3 separate regions of the Homo sapiens genome follow, and all the other regions are linked to region 3. Evidence: promoter capture Hi-C in 16 types of primary human blood cells and fetal thymus (Javierre and others, 2016). All regions are on one chromosome and are shown on one strand. Each heading gives the region's core, a stretch centred on a gene start or on the middle of the fragment in contact. The rest is flanking DNA. Distances are from core to core; before and after follow the strand shown. Region 1 overlaps HIBADH (3-hydroxyisobutyrate dehydrogenase). Region 2 overlaps HIBADH (3-hydroxyisobutyrate dehydrogenase). Region 3 holds the start of EVX1 (even-skipped homeobox 1).

The links. The method cuts DNA at HindIII sites, captures the fragments that hold promoters and counts their contacts. A CHiCAGO score of 5 or more calls a contact.
Region 1: a contact is called between a fragment that was not itself captured here and the fragment with the promoter of EVX1 in region 3, in 1 of 17 cell types (M2 macrophages). The highest score is 5.7, in M2 macrophages.
Region 2: a fragment that was not itself captured here is called in contact with the fragment with the promoter of EVX1 in region 3 in 1 of 17 cell types (M2 macrophages); the score reaches 6.1 in M2 macrophages.

The regions. Positions count from the first base shown.
Region 1 is chr7:27,555,171-27,558,633 of GRCh38, reverse strand. The region is part of intron 4 of HIBADH (3-hydroxyisobutyrate dehydrogenase); the gene reads left to right. Among named protein-coding and RNA genes, the nearest start is that of TSL, 59 kb to the left of the region's middle. The HindIII fragment of the contact is 1,813 bases long and covers 934-2,746 here.
Region 2 is chr7:27,601,177-27,604,659 of GRCh38, reverse strand. All of the region lies in intron 4 of HIBADH (3-hydroxyisobutyrate dehydrogenase), which reads left to right. LOC107986699 (a long non-coding RNA gene) reads left to right here. Exons shown (of 2, transcript XR_001744911.2): 2 at 1-2,266. Among named protein-coding and RNA genes, the nearest start is that of TSL, 13 kb to the left of the region's middle. RefSeq lists an enhancer at 1,263-2,023. The HindIII fragment of the contact is 3,461 bases long and covers 1-3,169 here.
Region 3 is chr7:27,240,946-27,244,639 of GRCh38, reverse strand. EVX1 (even-skipped homeobox 1) reads right to left here and starts at 1,838. Exons shown (of 3, transcript NM_001989.5): 1 at 1,183-1,838. The coding sequence starts at 1,609. EVX1-AS (EVX1 antisense RNA) reads left to right here. Exons shown (of 4, transcript NR_120507.1): 2 at 2,630-2,725; 3 at 2,999-3,091; 4 at 3,190-3,211. RefSeq lists an enhancer at 1,343-2,220. The HindIII fragment of the contact is 5,233 bases long and covers 1-2,187 here.

The DNA.
Region 1 (3,463 bases), core at 591-3,090, 310 kb before region 3:
CCTCAACCTCCTGGACTCAAGCAATCCTCTTGCCTCAGCCTCCTATGTAGCTGGGACCGCAGGTGGATTGCTTGAGCTTAGGAGTTTGAGACCAACTGGCAAATGGCAAGACGCCATCTCTACAAAAAAATACAAAAAAGTAGCTGGGTGTGGTCATGCCTGTCTGTGGTCCCAGCTATTTGGGAGGCTGAGGTGGGAGGATTGCTCGAGCCTGGGAGTTGGAGGTTGCAGTGAGTCGAGATTGTACCACCACACTCCAGCCAGGGTGACCGAGCGAGACCCTGTCCCCCCAAAAAATGGAAAATAAGCAGATCCTCTAAAACTCAATAAACTAGAATAAAACAAATATAAATCTATTTAAATAAGAAGAGAAATGTGACAAATGTGGTAATTGGAATTAATTAGGAAATTAGTTAACAACAAGAAAAATAGAGTCATTGAATAAAACCAAGAACTGGTCTTTCAGAAGACAAATCTTTAAGAAGTTTCACCAAGAAAAATAGAAACCATAAGCATCAAGAATAAGATAAGAGATTGCACACAGATATGGATGAAATAAGGAATTATAAGTTTGTGGGCAGAAAAATGGAAAGTCCAGAAGAAATAGGTGATTTTCTAGAAAAAAATGTTACCAAAATTGATTCAAGAAGAGGTAAACACATGAGTAAACTTCCAACGACCAGAGATATTCAGACAGCCATTACTAAGAAGGAACAAAGTAAAGATGGTTTTAAAAGACAAATCTTATGTAGTCTTCAAGTAATACTTAGTTCTTGTATATTGTGCTACGGTTTGAATGTGTCCTCTCCAAAATTCAGGTGTTAATACTTACTGGCCAATGTAAAGATATTAAGAGGTGGGGTCTTTAAGAGGTGATTAGGTCATGAGGGTTCCTCCTTTCCTGAATGGGATTAGGCCCCCTTATAAGAAGCTTAATGGAGGGATTTTGTTCTGCTTGCCCTTCTGTCTTCTGCCATGTGAAGACACAATGTTCCTCCCCTCTGGAGGGGATACAGCAACAAGCTGCCATCTTGGAAACAGAGAGCAGCCCTCACCAGACAACTGAACCTGTTGGTGCCTTGATCTTGGACTTCCCAGCCTCCAAAACTGTGAAAAAATACATTTCTGCTCTTTATAAATTTCCCAGTCTGTGATATTCTGTGATAGGAGCACAAAACAGACTAAGACAATATGTAACTATATAATATAGTTTAATATTATTCTTGGTTCTGAGGTCTAGAATAGTACTTAACAAATTTAACAAGAAATGTGTAAGACCTATATGAGGAAGATGACAAAACTATAAAGGCAAAATAAGATCTGAATAAATGGAGACACCACTTATCTGCTTGGAAAAGCATGTAAACATGTCCATTCTCTTGAGATAATATATAAATTGTAATGCAAAACCGTGTTATTTCTTAAAAAAAAAACCTTAAGCTCATCTGGGAGAATAAGTAAATAAAAAATGCCAATTTTTTTTTTTTTCCTTTTTAGACAGGGTCTCACTCTGTTGTTCAGGCTGGAGTGCAGTGGTGTGAACATGCCTCGCTATAGCCTCAACCTCCTAGGCTCAAGTGATCCTCCTGCCTCAGCCTCCTGAGTAGCTAGGACCACAGGCATGTGTTACCATGTTCAGCTAATTTTAAAAATTTTTGTCAAGACAGGGTCTCACCATGTTGCACAGGCAGGTTTCCTGGGCTCAGGCTCTATCCTCTTCTATCCTCCTTTATCCTCTATCCTCCTGCCTTGGCCTCCCAAATATTATAGGCACCTGCCCAAAAAAATTTTTTAATAAGACAATTAGGACTCCATAAATATCAGAACACAGTATAAAGTTACAGTGATTAAAACAGCATCATATTTGTTCAAGAACAGACAGACTGGGAGACAGAGTTAAGTCCCCAAACAGACCTTTGTATGTATAGGTACTTAGAATCTGAGTAAGGCAATCAGATCAGTGGGGAAATGAATTCTTTAATAAATTGTGTTAGGACAATTCATTGTGGGGAGCAGATCCCTACTTCACCCCATACACTGAAAATAAATAGCAGATGGATTAAATAACTGATTGTTTTAAAAAATGTGTAAGAAGGCCAAAGAAATGTCTAAGAGAATTCTTTCAAAATCTTAGAATGAGGAAAACCTTCTGAAGCAAGACAAATAATAAAAAACCATTAAAAAATTAACAGATCCAAGAATTGAAAACACACACACATCTTTGTGACAAAAAGAAAAGTTAAAAGGCAACAACAGACTGAGGGAAATTATTTGCAAAATATATAACAGAGTAGACATAAAATCTATAATTAACAAGAAAAAGACCAAGAATCAGGAGAAAAGTAAAGAAACATGATAGGCAGTTTACTGAAGAGGAAACCCAGTGAACTATGTAAAAAGATACTCGACTTTTCTAGAGGACACAGAATGACTATCGTGTATCAAGCATTGCTTATGTAGTCTTTCACAGTCCTGTCGAAGCAGATATTATTAACAAGTGAGAAAACTGAGTCTTAGAATTAGTAACTTATGGTGGACGTTTTTTCAAATACTGTAATTTATCAAAGTGGAATGTTTTTTGCATTAAGTTAAAATCCTTTCTGTATTCTCTAATTCACGACTATCTTTAAATTTTGTTTTCAGAATACACTTGAAGGTGTTTATTTAGTATGCCCCTTGAAGAGAAAGGGCAAGGAAAGAAATGCAGTTGGCTACCCTTGATCATGTGACCCTAACAGGTTAAGCTTTCAGGACACACACTTGCATGCATATATATTTGACTTGAGAAGATAGACATGATTTTTACGAGGATTTGTTTCTGTTCTACTTTGGCAAATACTGCATGAATCATGTCTCTAGATTTTGACTGGCTGGGTACTTTTTTTATATGCCTGAACTTCTTGACATAGTATTGAATTGTCTTTCAAGTGATCCAAATAAATAATACATATCTATACATTTATATCACTGTAAATTTGGAAATGCTGCCATAAGTGGGTAATGGTAACATCATAACTGAATGGACATGCAGGAGACCAATTTGGGGTCTATTTGAGGAGAGGGTAGGGGGACAAAAGGTGTTTGGACATGTTGAATTCATTGTGCTTCTGAGGGCCAGTAGTAAGAATTAGCTGATAGATAGTTGAAATTTTGACTCTAGACTTGGAACTGACAAGTTGAGTCTTGTCTTTGTACTCAGTGTTCTACTGAAACAAGTTGTATGTAGTCAGGAGGTGGGTTGTATTAAGGGCTGAGGAGGGAGAAGGCCATTATCCATAATAGGTTTATGTATTTGGCTTAGTCTTTATTTAAAAAAAAAAAAAAAAAAAAAGTAGAGCAAGAAATGTTCCTTTTGCTGTGATTGGTTCTCATGAAACCGGAAGAACAGTTCTCCCCACTTAAATTACCACCATTAAGCAGTGGTTGCCTTTATCACATATACAGAATTCTGTAAAAATTTTAT
Region 2 (3,483 bases), core at 190-2,689, 360 kb before region 3:
CCCTGAAATTTTTACTTTTAAACTTGATGCAACAGTCTGCTTCTTAGCTTTGTTGTATGCTAATATTTCTACTTATTTAACATCAAAAAGCTGTAGAGGTTTCTCTTTATAGATTATGCCTGTGTTCTGGAATTGCCTCCTGCTGTCCATGAATTGCTTCTTGGCTTGTTGTGTTAGAATTTCTCACCAGGGTCTTTTGTGAGCTATGTAGCCAACATTAAAAAAAAAAAAATCAAATTTGATAGAGTAAACTGGACTAGTAAAAATTATACTTACTATTCATAATTATAATTGAGGTTTCTTGGCTCAGCATATCAATTTTATGCAGTAAGAGTAAGCACATACAAATCTCATGTAATGATATGCATACATATAGTTGCCTACAATGACTGTTTTTCTAGTTATTTCTATAATATTAAAATGATTTTTTTGCTGAAATTCCAGAAATCTAAAAACATTGAAAAATAATGATAATGAGAAAAACAATTCTTACTTGTTAGGGTATATGTTATTTAGTAATGAAGCATTTAGATTTTGGATTCTCTCATTTCAGTTGGAAATAGTATTGGTGTAAGTGAGTGTTGCCATGGGAACCTCCACATAGATATAAAAGGCAATACTGTCTAAGTGGAGGAGGAGGGGCGATGTACTGAAATACCACTGGCCTAAATGATCTATTTTATGTATGTGTGTTGGTGTGGGGGTGAGAGCTAGGATGAAAAGGGGAGAGAAAGTACTACAGAAAGTAAATGTTAGCAGTCAAAGCAATTTACTCACACTTTTGGATTCTTTTAGATAGAAGTGTTTTAAAGCTCGAAATGTGATTCTTAATTATTGGTATCATTTGCACACACTGGGGAGTCTTTGCATATCTTATTTTTAATGTACAGTGGAATATGTTTAACTTACTTGGTTTTAGATAAAATTTAATTTAGTGAAATTTGAGAGTTAGGATTTCAGTCTTTGAAATGGCTTTATACATGTTATTAAAGATGTTATATTTAATTCTTTTTAAATATCTGAAATTTAGAAAAACTGATTAGGACACAGTTAATGTGGCTTTCAAAGAAAAGCTGGCATTTTGGCTTTATAGTATTTTTAATACTAGATTTTTAGTAATTTTCTATAAATATATAGGCAAGGAAACAATGACTTACTGTATCTGCATGTGTAATATTTTATGGTTAAAAAAATAAAGAATGAAAACAACAAAACCTAACATAAAATCTTTTTATATCCCTTAGGAGCACATAAAGATTGTAGAGATAGAGATGATTAGAGAACAACCAATTTAACTGCATGCAAAGTAACATTTTTGTTTTTTGTATGTTTAGGTTACAAAAAAACAATGAAATTGTGCCCAACCTGAGTTAGCCTGGTAAAATGCAGCAGCATCATCATTGCAGTTTTAACACTATGGATTCTGGTTGTCAGATACAAATATAAAAAAAAGAAGAGATATTAACTGACAAAAACTGTTTAAACTTACCTTTTTAGTCAATCCAGAGAAAAAGCTGCCAAGGTAATAAAACATCCAGAAGTTTTTAAGTTAAAACGAGTAATTTAAATTAAAAGGGGTGAGGGGGCATGAGCAAGCAAGGGAGAAGAAAAAAGGGGTGAAAACGACAGGCACTTTGCTTCCTGGGCCTGGCTGTATCTGATGTAAATTAACCAGCAGTGGGGAGTGTATTGTTTCCAACTCCACATAAACAATGCTGGGTATCTCTTTGGGAATGGGTGGGTGCTGGGATGGATGGAGGTTGTTGAGAAGGGAACTGGCAAGCAGAGTTTATAATCTATTAGTGGATTTTTTTTGGCATGCGAAACATAGTAGGAAAGAGTAAATAATGAGAAAGTACGTTTGCATGTAAAATTGATCAAGTGAAACCTTAAAATGATGTGAAATAATTCATAATTGTTAGAGAATGCTTATTTGTCAGTAATCTTCAGGTTTAAAAAAATTTTTTTTAAAGACTGACGCCTTGTAATGTAAAACGTTCAGCAATGAAGATACCCAGTTTTAAGTGTACTTTTGGCATAGTATATCAGCTTAGCTCTAAACATGGCTTCTAAAAACTAAAAGACTAAGGAAACTTGTATTTCTTTGAAAAATAGGTAACAAGAGGGATGAAAAGTCAAGTTTATTTTTAAAAATAAGAGAATGAAAGTAAGAGCTACAACATCCATGTTGTTTTTCTGTTTCAGTTTTTGCCTGCTGCTTTTTCTTCCCTGCACTCTTTCTTGGAATAAAATCTGATAGTCTTAACGGAGTGGAAAGTGTGAAAATGCACACAGCCTTATCAATAAGTAGATTCAAAACATCTCTAATCACCTTAAAGTTTTATAGTGCAGAATTTTCTAGAAGTCAACTGATTAATTAAGTACCTTTTGTGTGTCAGTTTATCACACTGGGTTGTTTCTGTATTTTAAAACATTTCATCCTTATAGCATCCCCATGAAATGCAGATTATCCTCTTTTTTTTTTTTTCAGTGAGGAAGTTGAGTCTCAGGAAGGCACAATAGGACAATATGCAATTTTAAGAATTAGCCTGATTTAGCAAAAATAAGACATTTTAGGTAGAGGATTTTCAATATTATTGCAGGAGACTAATACATTCAAGTTTGGAGTTTCTTTGGGTTGCTAGAATAACTAAAAGGCTTTGGTTTGTTTCATTTAAAAACAAAATAGAGAAAAATACTTTTTCTTGTTCTATCGATATCACACCATTCAATGACCCCACTCCCACACAATACCCACAATCAAAATATAGAAAGAATTATTAGCTAACCAAAAAAAGTTCACATAGGTAATCTAAAGTAATTTTATTTTTGGTTTTAAGTGCTTTAATCTAGTTAACTAAAGGAACAAAAAGGGCAAACATGTATAAACAAGTGAAAACCAGAATTTTTAACCTTCTAACATAATATCCTTCATAGGTCTTTTAGCAATTGGATTATTAAAAAGCCAGAATACCTTATTTAGTTATTAATCATAATATGAGTACACAGGACAGCTTTACGTATTTTCCCCTTTACCTTAAATTTTTAAATTTTTATTTTCCAACATTACCCAGTTAAATGCACTTTTATAACTTTTTAAATACCCAAAATTGACCTTTACAAAATATCAATGAGAATTTCAGTATTCAACATTAATCACTGATAAGCTTTTTTTTAGCACGTTTATAGTATAGGTATTTAACGTTAATACATGATTAACAGTGTATCAAGCTTATTGCACAATCATAATAAAATACACTATTCAGTGCTAATTAGGCATTGCAATTATCATTTGGTGTTGTACTGAAAGAATTATATTGGTAACTGATGCTTTTCATCTTGTTAGTATTTTTAATCCCTCTCAATATATATAATCTTTCAGTAGTTTCATCAAAAGAAATCTGTTCCAACAACTTTAAACAGAGGACCTTCAAGAGTGTGAGGTGTGTGTAATAGTTTTATCTTGAAGAGAACTCAGTGAAA
Region 3 (3,694 bases), core at 589-3,088:
TTCAGAGAGTTTCCTTGCTCTTATGTGTGACGGGCTGCCAGAACAGGTGTGGGAATGTGTACTAGGTTCCGTGTATTGCAGGGCTGGAGTGAGAATGCATGTTGAGTATCTTATTTATTACCTTAGTATATGTGAGTGGAGTCCAGGTTGTTCTGAGGGTTATGGGAAGGAGGCTGGGTGAAATCGGTGATAAGATAGTAAGGGGTAGGTGCAGGTATTCAACAAGGCGTTGGCTGCCAAGACCAGGGGGTGGTCTTTCTCCCCCCCGCCCCCAGGCTCTTTCCACCCACTCCTACAGTTCTGTGGAGGAGTGTCTGCTGGTGGGCTCCCCTCTCCTCCCCCCCACCAACCCGCGCCCAGTTTTCTACCCCCTTCTGGGGAGGTGATTGTTGGCACAGAGGGAAACTCCCTTCCGGGCTATCCACCCCTTTCCCATTAGCCTTTGGTGGGGAGGGGTTCTCCAGTTAAACCAGCCCCCCTTTGGGCCTACCTCTGAGAAGGGTGGGGCTCCAGCCCCCTGCAGCTCCTTTTCCTTTGGGTGGAGAAGTGGGACTAGGAAGGAAAGGGGAAGGGGGGAGGACCCGATCTCTGCCTTTTCAAATGCAACCGGAGACCAAAGGCAATTAGACCATTGGGACCATTTCCGACCTGGCGCCGCGAAGCCCGGGAAGTGACAAGGTAATTTGGACCTCTGACCGACGTGCAAACTGGTCGGAGGGCTGCAGCACCCGGGCTGCCCAAGTGGGCCGCAATTTTACGGTCCTTTATGGACTCCTGGCTTCCGCGCCTCCATGCCTCTTACACCCTGCCAGCCACAAACTGCCCGGATCGGCGTTTGATCTTGCCCTCGCCTGGGGAAAGTGTCTTCCCCGAGCAATTGAAGCATTCCCCGAGCAGTTGAAACACTGGGTGCTTGGGGTGAGCTTCGAATCCCCCAAGTCCAGGACTTGCATCCGCCCCCTCAGCACCCCGCACTCAAGGCACTGCTGTCACCCTCAGTCCCGCCAATGCCAGAACACAGTAGGAGACCCCCGCCAGAACGCAGATAGCAGAGAGAGTTGCTCAGGTGGGTCCCCCCAGCCATCCTGCCCTAGGGGAAGGGAGTGTCTTCCTCCTGGCCTGCGCCGAAGTGAAGGGTGGGCGCAGTGGGAGGCCCGGGGAGCGGAGGGGCACGGTGGCTACCTTTGCTGTGCTGGTACTCGGCGTTCCCGGTGGCGCAGTCCGGGGTGCAGCTCACCTCGATTTCTTCATAGAAATCCGACTCGGTGTCCGAGCTACTGGGTTGCCCCTGTCCGGAGAGGCTGTCGACTGAGGGGGCCGGGGGTCCTGGGCCGAGCATGGCCGCCCCAGCTACCTGGGGCTCGGCGCCCGGCCCCGCCGCGCTGCCTGCGAGTCCATCTACCGGCTCCTCCTCCGGGCCTCCCCCGCCGCGCTCCCGGGTGGCCGGAGGGACGGCCCGAGGGCTCAGGCAACCACGGGGCACCATTTTCTCGGGCGGCTCCGGCAGCGGGCTGCCCACGGCTTCGGACAAATTTGAGACTCTCTTGCCAACCAGAGTGCCAAGCTGACCCCCATCCAGAAACACAACCATGTCCTTTCGGCTCTCCATCCCGGGGCTCTCCGGTGGGGGAGGGGAAAGCCCCAAGTGAGTTCCTAACCCCGGCTCCCTGGGTCTCCAGCGGCCGGACGGATCTTGGTTGCAAGAGGGAGAAAGAAAGGCCGGGTGCCTGGGAGGGCGCGGAGCTGCTGGAGCGCGGTCTGGACCGCGACCGCGGCGGTGGCGGTGGGAGCTAGGGTCACCTTGTGAAGCGAGCGCTCCTCTGTGCCGCACCGCCTCTGGGAGGAAGCCCCATTGCCCTCTTCTTTCTAAGCTGTCATCCTCCTGCTGCAATCGTCATTACAGTACCGCTGGTGACGCCACTCGGCGAGCGCAAGTGGATAAATAGAAACGTCTGCCACAGCGAAGATGAAAGGAAACCCGCAGCTAATGGCTCGGCAGTGATGCGCCAGGTGTGGGCCTCGCTCGATTGGGGAGGAGAGTGTGAAAACAGACAGAGAGACACACACACTGAGAGAGGGAGACACCCAGGCAGAGGGGATGCAAATGGAATTCCGCAGAAAGAAAAGAGAGCTTAACGCGCGCGGCGAGTTCCGCAGGGGCAGCGGGACTCGGTAATTAAATAAGCTTTTGATTTTTTCTTTTATTGTTGTTTTGACTTTTGTTTTCTTAACTTGGTGCCTTGATCTAACACCGATGAAAGAATCCATAACTGCATTTTAGAAGTGTGAAGCCCGGCTTACAAGCCTCAATTCTGTCGGCATTATTACAACTGTCTGCCCCTGGCAGCTAACCTCAAACTGGCTGAAAAGTCTTTTTACAAGCTACGGAAAAATGTATTCCCCCGCCCCAAGTTGACTGGAGAGCTTGAGGCTGGGCCATCTTTTCCTCTTTTCTCCTCCCTCTCCCTACCCACCTCTGTCTCCTTACTCCTGCGAACCAAACTTTGCTATTTTTCTTCCCTAAGGGGCAAGAAATAAATACCTTATTATTATTTTTTAATTTAAAGACCCGCCTTGGCTTCTGTAAGAGTGTGTGCTGATTTCTTTTAAATACCTCCTTCCCATCTAGATGGCCTTAAGTTTTCCACAGCCTGGCTTCATCTTGAGATGGCTATTCGTACAAGAAGTCGCTTTCCCGTTTGCCTGGACCTCGCCTGCACTCCAGGTATGTTGGGTGGGGAGAGTTTCTAAGAGTTGTCTTTTTTTTTCCCTTGCCCATATTTTAAAGTATTCGTTCAGAATCAGCGAAGTCTCCTGGAAAGAGGTTTTTCGAATGAAGAGGCGCCAGGAATGCGGCCCCTGCTGTGGCAGTACTGGAGGCCCCTACTTGGGAGAAGGCAGTAGCTTTCACCGCGCTATTTTGGGCAGGGGTTCAGCCTCCCCGAGTACAAAAAGGTTGGGGTTCATAGAGGTTTGACTCATAAGGTCCTCTCCCAAGTCCCTGCCTAGGGGCAGTGGTACCTGTCTCCAAAAGTGGATGGCGTTTGAGGTAGAAGAGAGTGAAGTCGCTGAAAATGCCCTAAAACAGCAAGTAAGTAGGGACTCTGATGAAGGGCTGGAGGTGGGGGCAGGGGTTGTGGAACTTAATATCTGGAAGCTGCCATAGGCCTCTCTTGGCTCCTCTCCCAGGGAAGAAGCTGGTATAAAACTCCTTCAAACTGACCCTTTTTGAGCTCCAAGCAAGTGTGCTGGGGCCAGGTGGGTGGGCTGAGTCTATCCCCACATTGCTGAGAGCAGGAGGTGGGCACCTTCTATGCTCAACCCCCCTTTCTCCGCCTCCTCCCGAAGAGCTTCTAGCCCTAGGCAGCCAGCTGCAAAGGGCAGCCCAGCACCTCCCTCCTTTCTGTGTCCCTAGCAAAGCCCCAGCTTTTACAGGTAAGTCCTCTTCCGTGACCTTTTTATCTGTTATCTCCTACTTTTCTCTCCTCCTTTTTCTCTTTCTGTATTCTTCTCCTTCTTTGCTTCTCTCCTCCATCTTCCTATCCATAGGGTTAAGGAAGGTAGAGGAAGTAAGGGGTCCAAAGAAAGACAAAGTTTCCTCTTCACTCCGGCTTTCCACTTCTCTTTCAGTCTAAGACGATGTTCATTAATCTTGCCTGGGGGCGGAGGCAGCGGGATCCGGAAGGTAGTGTCC